Regions from separate parts of the Homo sapiens genome. Here region 2 is linked to region 1. Evidence: promoter capture Hi-C in human tissues and cell types (Jung and others, 2019). All regions are on one chromosome and are shown on one strand. The core of a region is centred on a gene start or on the middle of the fragment in contact, and the rest is flanking DNA. Distances in the headings are between cores, read along the strand shown.

Evidence for each region. The method cuts DNA at HindIII sites, captures the fragments that hold promoters and counts their contacts. A contact is called where the count stands out against the background at its distance.
Region 2: a fragment that was not itself captured here is called in contact with the fragment with the promoter of PRKAR1B in region 1 in 1 of the 25 tissues and cell types used here (lymphoblastoid cells).

What each region holds. Positions count from the first base shown.
Region 1 is chr7:725,336-729,370 of GRCh38, reverse strand. PRKAR1B (protein kinase cAMP-dependent type I regulatory subunit beta) reads left to right here and starts at 2,090. Exons shown (of 11, transcript NM_001164760.2): 1 at 2,090-2,161. It overlaps DNAAF5 (dynein axonemal assembly factor 5), which reads right to left and starts at 2,672. Exons shown (of 13, transcript NM_017802.4): 1 at 2,056-2,672. The coding sequence starts at 2,650. RefSeq lists silencers at 1,810-1,889, 1,930-2,039, 2,100-2,149, 2,400-2,599. The HindIII fragment of the contact is 22,808 bases long and covers 1-4,035 here.
Region 2 is chr7:271,123-275,157 of GRCh38, reverse strand. No RefSeq gene overlaps it. Among named protein-coding and RNA genes, the nearest start is that of FOXL3, 17 kb to the left of the region's middle. The HindIII fragment of the contact is 9,029 bases long and covers 1-4,035 here.

The DNA.
Region 1 (4,035 bases), core at 841-3,340:
AAGACCAGAGAGCCTGGACCTGCTGAAGCCAAGGTGGAGGCCTGACGGGGACACTGGCCAGAGGAAAGAAGCCGAGCCCAGAAGACAGAGGCGAGGCCACACTCCCAGCCCCACCTGAGACGAGACCCCAGGCTCCTCCAGGAAGCTGGGCCAGCACCACTCCAGGCAAAGCCACTGCACTTCCTATTTGTAAAGTCCCCGCAGAAAGTCAGAACAAGAGGTGGCAGGCGCCTGTAATCCCAGCTACTTGGGAGGCTGAGGCAGGAGAATCGCTTGAACTCAGGAGGCGGAGGTTGCAGTGAGCTGAGATCGCCCCACTGCACTCCAGCCTGGGAGACAGAGTGAAACCCTGTCTCAAAAAAAAAAAAAAAAAAAGTCAGAACCAAAGGGTCTCTGGCATCCAGGCCGCCTCTTGCCTCAGCTCTGCACTACTTGGGGCCCGTCTGGGAAACGGCTATTCCAGTGAGACTTTGGGTGAGCGCCTCAACCTCTCTGCCGTTGCCCAGTGTGACCGAGACCAGAGGTGAGGCCCCCCACCCAGGGGAGAGGAAGGCCAGAGGTGCTGGAGATGAGGGGATGCTCCAGGCAGAGGCACAGTCCCTCACCCCACAGCAACCAGTGAGCACATACCCCAGCAGGCTGCGCTTGGGGCTGGGGCACAGATGGGCACAGTGCTGTCCTGTGGAACCTACGGTCCAGGGAGGGAGCTCGTGGGGCTGATGTACAGACTGGGTAGGGAAGTGGTTGAGGATGAAGAAGAAATACATTAAATGCCAGGAATTCTCAATGGCCATGTCCATCCAGCCCAAGGTTCTTCCCCAAGCTCCACAGGAGTTCTGGACCATGTGAAATCCAAAGTTAACCAACGTGGAAATCTCGGCATTTCCCCAAGTCCAGCTCTTCCTCTACTTCTGGAATCTATTCTCCACGCAGCTGCAGTGATCTTTTAACAACCTGAACTCGGGTCTATCACTTCTATTGACACCCCCTGCACTTCCCACTACATTCAGACCATCACTGGGACATCACTGGGACGGCCTGAGCTGGCCAGATCCCTCACTGCTTTCCTGCTCCCTACCGCCCACGGATTTATAGCATCAGTGTTCCCTCCTTCGGAAAGCCTTCCCGCCAGCAGGAAGCAGGCGCCTGCTATCATTCCACATCCCAGCCAGGGGAGGGAAAGGGCAAGACCCTGCAGGAATGGCCAGCTAAGGAAAGGGAACGACCGGATCAGATCAGAGCTCTAAAAAAGATGGGGAACGTTATAAAGTGGAGGGGAGAAGCGGCCTCCTTCCACTTAGGACAGTGGTCCAAGCCAGAGCGGAAAGGCAGGGGAGTAGGATGAATGGGACAGAAAGTGAAATGACCAGAGCAGAGTCTCAAAGCGCGTGCCCTCAACCAGGTGCAAGTCCTGCAAGCCCCCGAGGGAAGGAAAGGGGGCAGCTATCAGGGCACACCCCACCCCAAACCGCCTAACAGGAATTTCTGCGGTGGTTTCCAGGTATCTGGACAGAAGCGCTGGCTCGTGGGCCCGGGTGGGGTGGAGGGGGCTCAGGCAGGGAGGAGGGTGGGAGGTGAGGGTCGCGGGAGGGCGGCGTGCAAGGAGGAGGATGGCACAGGATAGGCAGGTGGAGGGGGCACAGGGAGCAGGCAGGTGGGGGGCGGGGCTTGGGGCGTGGAGGGTGGAGGCGGGGAGCAAGGGGACAGGGGAGTGAGGTGAGTGAGGGCCAAGCAGGAACAGGGGTCACGGGGCAAGGAGCACGTGGCAGCGCAGGAAACAGGTACATGGGGGTAGAGGACAAGGGAGCAGCTGAAGGGCGCGTTGGTGGCGGGACGTGAGGCAGGGGAAGCAGTGGTGGTGGGAGGAGGGGGCCGGGCGGGGTGCTTTGGGGCAGGCGGGTGGGGGAAGCGGCGCATGGGGGGTCCGGGATGTTGGGGGGTGCGGGCGTGGAGGGGGGCGGGGCCGAGCCGCGGGGGTTGTGAGAGGGGCCGCGGAGGTGGAGGTGGGGGTGAGAGTGTGGGGTGGCGTGTGGGAGCGGGGCCCGGGGTGCTCACCGGGCGTGGCCTGCGCCAGGGCGGCGGCGCAGCTGCAGCTCTCGCGGCGCACGGCGGCGAAGGGGTCGAGCAGGGAGCAGCGCAGCGCGCGCAGAGCGTCGTCCAGGTGGGGCGCGAGCGCGGCGCCGCACAGGTCCACGGCCAGGCCCAGCAGCTGCACAAGCGCCAGGCGCAGCTCCTCACAGGCCTCGGGCGGGCGGCGCGCGGGCACGGGGCCGGCCAAGCGCGCGGCGAGCGCGGGCAGCAGGCGCGGCAGGGCATCGCGGGGCCGCGCGGCGCGGCGCAGGCCCAGATCCAGCAGGTGCACTGCCAGCGCGCGGCAGCCCTCGGCGGGGTCGCTCAGGCAGCGCAGCAAGCGCGGCAGCAGTAGGCGCGCCCAGGGGCCCTGGAAAGCGGTGGGGTCGGCGGCAGGGCCTGGCTCCTCCAGCGCGCGCCGCAGGGCCTCCAAGGCGCGCCGCCGGCCCGGCTTGCTGTCGGCCTCCAGCCCCGGCAGCAGGCGGCTCAGGGCGCGGCTCAGCTCCACCGCCTCAGCCGTCTCGGCCCCCTCAGCCGGGTGTGGGGCCGCCACGGCCTCCGCCACCCCCAGCGCCGCCATCTTGCCCGCGTCGCCGGTCACTAAGGGGAACAGCGCTTTCGCGACTCTCAGCGCAGATTACGGCAGCACTTCCGGTCCGCGCTGCGGGCGGGGCGCCGGGCTACTTCCTCCCCGCCGGTGCGCACGTGGGCCTGTGCTCTTGTCGTGCTCGCCCGCTGTCCCCCTCTGTCGCCGGAACCCCCGCCAGCCTGCCTGCTGGGCCTTGTCCTGTCCCCATTGTACAGATGGGGAAGGTCTCGGGAGGGTGCAGCTCGCCCGGGATGCGGGTCCCGGGCTATAGGCCTGGGCCTGCCCCTAGGGAAGCCTGCCCTGCAGCCTAGGGGGCTTGGAGAAGGAACCTGAGTGGTCCCGCCTGGGACCAGGGTAGCCGGGAAGCCCCTGTTTGAGCCGCCTAGAGCCCCTCTGGCTTTGGGAAGGTCCGTTCCAGGAGGGAAGGACGCTGGTTCTGTGGACTGGATCCCCCTGTGGTGTAAGACAGGTGCCTGGTCTGGGCTTCACGTGCAGCCTGTCATTAGATCTCAGGCGTAGCCGCCCAATAGGTTCGCCTTACTCGCTGCCCAGGTAGAGCCAATTTATCAAGACAGGGGAATTGCAATAGAGAGTTTAATGCATGCAGAAACTGGCTGCATGCAGAAACTGGCTGCATGCAGAAACTGGCTAAAGGACACTGGAGCTTTATTGCTCAAACCAGGTTCTGAAAATCCTGAGATGGGTCATCTAAGGATAATTAGGCAGGTAGGGGGCCAGGGAGAGGGCAGTGCTTATTGGTCGGGTTGGAGATGAAACCATGGAGAGTCAAAGTTGATTCTCTTGCTGTCTTCTGTTCCTGGGTGGGATCACAGAACTGGTTGAGCCAGATTAGTGGTGTGGGTGGTGGCACCTGGTGCATCAGAATGCAGAGCCTGAAAAATATCTTGAGCACCAATCTTAGAGTTGATGATAGTGGTGTTATCCTAAGGAGCAACTGGGGAGGTTTGGAATCTTGTGGCCTCTAGCTGCATGACTCAAACCACAATTTCTAATCTTGTGGCTCATGTGTTAGTCTTACAAAAGCATTCTGGTCCCCAGGCAAGAAGGAGGTTGGCTTCAGGAAAGGGCTGTTATCATCTTTGTTTCAAAGTTAAACTATAAACTAAGTTCCTCCTAAAGTTAGCTTGGCCTACTCCCAAGAAATAACAAGGCAGCTTGGAAATTAAAAGCAAGACAGTGTTTCACAGTAGTGACCTTGACTGTGGACTTGAGTGGAGACAGAGGCGCCTAAACAGCTTGGAGTCGGAGTTGCTGTGAGCCCAGCCTAGAACGCGAGTTTGACAGCACTCACTGCAAACCAGGAGTCCCCAAGTCTGGTTAGCCAGGCACTTCTCATCTGTGACCATGCACTGAGT
Region 2 (4,035 bases), core at 630-3,129, 450 kb after region 1:
CTTAGACAGAAATACGGGCAAGATAAGAAAAAGCCAGAGCTTAGTCCTCGCTCTGTGGAATCATTAGCTGAGAGTGAACTCACAGAACAGAGACTTCACTGACCACACACAGCATAGAACACAGACTTCATAAAATTCACTCAGAAAAGTCACTAAATAAACAGAAATACTAAAAATAAGCAGCAACAAAATAAACTGAAACCAAAAAAACTACATAAGCAGCAATCCGTTGGTTCCAATTGTTTTTGCCAGTTTATTCATTGCTTTTATGAACAGATGGATTTTGGAGTTCCCTGCTCCAAATGTGGGGAGAGAGGAGATTTTCATAGCTGCTACATCATAATATTCCAAATGTCTACTTTTCAGCAAAAAATTACAAGGCATGCAAAGAAACAAGAAACTATGGCCCATAGATGCTAAAGGAAAAGAAAAAAAGATCAACTGAACCTCTCTCAGAAGAAGCAGACACATTAGACGAAGACTTTAATCAACTATTTAAAGTATGTTTAGGAGCTAAAAGAAACAGTGGGTGATAACAGAAAAACTTCAACTGAATTAAATTTAAAGAGTTTAATTGAACAATGAATGATTCACACATCAGGCAGCCCCCAGAATCACAGCAGATTCAAAGAGGCTCCAGTGCAGCCACGTGGTGGAAGAAGATTTATAGATAAAAAAAAGGGAAGAGAGGTACAGAAATCAGAAGTAAGGTACAGAATGGCTGGATCGGTCACAGCTTGGTGTTTGCCTTATTTGAACACAGTTTGAACACTCAGCAGTGTGTGAGTGGTTGAACTATGGCTGCTGGAATTGGCCAAGACTCAGCTATTGTTACAGGTGCAGATTCCTAAGTTAGGTTTTCAATCTTATCTACCTGTTAAGCTAGGTTGCAGTTCATCCACAAGTACTCAAATATAGAAGTATGGAGTCCTTCTCAGGCCATATTTAATTGGGTTTAACATGGGCAAAGAAAGAAAACCAGGAGAATAATGTTTGAACAAATAGAGAATTTCAATAAAGAGATAGAAATTATGAAAATTACCTGGCTGGGTGCGGTGGCTCACCCCTGTAATCCCAGCACTTCGGGAGGCCGAGGCGGGCAGATCACGAAGTCAGGAGATCGAGACTATCCTGGTTAACATGGTGAAACCGTGTCTTTACTAAAAATACAAAAATTAGCCGAGTGTGGTGGCGGGCACCTGTAGTCCCAGCTACTCGGGAGGCTGAGGCGGGAGAATGGCATGAACCTGGGAGGCAGAGCTTGCAGTGAGCTGAGATCACACCACTGCACTCCAGCCTGGGTGACAGAGTGAGACTCGACTCCATCTCAAAAAAAAAAAAAAAGAAGAAATTATGAAAATTACCCAAACAGAATTTTTAGAGATGAAAACTAAAATAACTGAGATGAAAATTTCACTAGAGAGGTTCAATGGCAGATTTGAGCAGGCAGAAAAAGAAAATTAGTGACTTGAAGACAAGTCAATTGAGATTATCCAGTTTGAGGATCAGAAAGAAAAATGAATAAAGAAAAATGAGCAAAGCCGGAGAGATCTGTGGGCCCTGACGAGCCCCTAACTGTGCATAATAGGAGACCCAGAAGGAGAGGAGAGTGAGGAAGGGACAGAGGATACCTGAAGAAATAATGGCCAAAAAGTCACAAATGAGATGAAATACATAACTCTACACATCCGAGAAGCTCAGTGAATTCCAAGTAAGGTCAACTCAGAGATCCTCACGAAGTTGTCAAAGGCCATCGAGTACTGAAAGCAGAGAGAGAAATGCCTCGCGGCCTGAGTGGGTCTGTGGTTTGGTCCCTTATGGCCACATGGTGGCTCTTTCTGTCATGTGGAGTCATTCTTATTTTTTATCAAGAGCTTACAATGTGGTCGACGTGGTTGGGCTATGCCAGTGAACAATAATCGTAGTAAAAAACCTGCCCTGTCTTCCATCTTCATGGGCTTAGGTTCTATCGGAGGAGACAAATTATTGACCAAAAGGTGACTAAAATGATAATCTAGGTGAGAAAAGTACTACGGGGAAAGAAACATAGCAGGGTCATGGGTCCAGGGTGTGTGTGCCTGGGTGTGTGTGTGCACACGAGTGTGTGGGTGGTCATGGGCTGGCCACAGCAGTCTCCCTGTGTGTCTGGGTGTGTGTGTGCACGCATGGGTGTGTGGGTGGTCACGGGCTGGTCACAGTAGGCTCCCCCATGAGATGACATCTATGCACAGACCCAAAAGAGGGGACGCACCAGCCATGCGAGGCTGAGGGAGGCACAGGGCAGAGGGCTGTGCGGGTGAATGCCCACTGACCGAGAAGCAGCCAGGCCTGGGGCTGAAGGAGAACCCGTGAGAGGAAGAGAAGCAGGATGATCTTAGCACGTGGACCGAGGCCACCTGCAGAGGACCCCGAAGGCCTTTGTGAGGACTCTGCCTTGCCCTCGTGTGGGATGGGGATGGTGCGTGAAGGAGAGGGGGTGTGATCTGCTCACACATTTACGGGTCCCTTGGACTGCGAGCTGAGGAGGGGCTCTTGTGAGGGTCACTGTGCAGGCCGCTGGGATTCAGAACCAGGAGGCGACTTCTGTGTCTGGGAACGTGCACGGTGGGGGCGTGGAGGGAGGGGCTCTTGTGAGGGTCACTGTGCAGGCCACTGGGACTCAGAACCAGGAGGTGACTTCGGTGTCTGGGAACGTGCACAGTGGGGGCGTGGAGGGAGGGGCTGTTCTTCCATCTCCAGAAGTGGAGCTCAGCACGTGAGGGGTGCTGGGGGAGGAGAAGAGTCAGGGGAGTTGTTACTGATGATGAGGGAAGGCTGCGTGGGGAGAACCTTCTGTGGGGGAGAGTGCGGGATCAGCTTCGGCGGAATTTGGGATGTCCAGCAGCCATCCCAGGGAGAGGAAATCTGGGATGCAGGCACGTGGACTTGGGAAGTGTTTCTGGAGTGCTCCCTCCCCGCTCCTCCCTGCAGGGGCCTCAGGTGCCGCTCCTCCTCCACATCCTCAGCCGTGCTCCCTCCCTGCTCCTCCCTGCAGGGGTCTGAGACGCCACTCCTCCTCCTCCACATCCTCAGCCGTGCTCCCTCCCCGCTCCTCCCTGCAGGGGCCTCAGATGCTGTCCCTCCTCCACATCATCAGCCGTGCTCCCTCCCCACTCCTCCCTGCAGGGGACTCAGATGCTGTCCCTCCTCCACATCCTCAGCCGTGCTCCCTCCTCGCTCCCCCCTGCAGGGGCCTCAGATGCTGCTCCTCCTCCACATCCTCAGCCTCTGCCTGGGAGGAGAGGGGAATGGGCGGGCAGGAGCTGACCCCGTCCCTAAACAGGGCCCTGAGTTGTGCGTACACATCTTTTCCTCCAGACAATTCATGAAGGCGGTGCACACTCTCTTATACCCACCAAAAAGTGTAAAGAACAGTGCAGTGAACACCCACAAATGCTTCAGCTCCTAAATCCGCCAGTCATGAACATCTTGACTCACTTACTTCACAGAAGAGCGGAGTTTGCATAAAATGTATTTTTTCTAATTATACTCTGTGGGTGAAATTCCATCCCCGAGCCAAATTTAGACATCTTCTTGAACTCCTGGTGAGCATTTTTTTTGCTGAAACATTTCAAAGTGAGCTGCAGATGCCATTACACTTCATCCTGAAGGCCTCAGCCTGCCTCTCCCAAGGACAAGCACGCTCTCCTCCATGGACACAGCGCCAGGCCCAGGAAATGGGATGTCAACACAATCTTATCACTGACATAGAGCCCATAGGCAAATCTGTCCAGTTATTTCCAAAATATCCTTTGAAATATCCTTCTGTTTTTATTTTTATTTATTTATTTTTTAAGACAGGGTCACCCAGGCTGGAGTGCAGTGGTGCAATCATAGCTCACAGCAGCCTCCAAGTCCTAGTCTCCAGGGCTCCTCCCACCTCAGCCTCCTGAGTAGCTGGGACCACAGGTGTGCACCACCGTGCATGGCTAATTTTCTAATTTTTGGGGGAGATGGGGGTCTTGCTATGTTGCCCAGGCTGGTCTCCAACTCCTG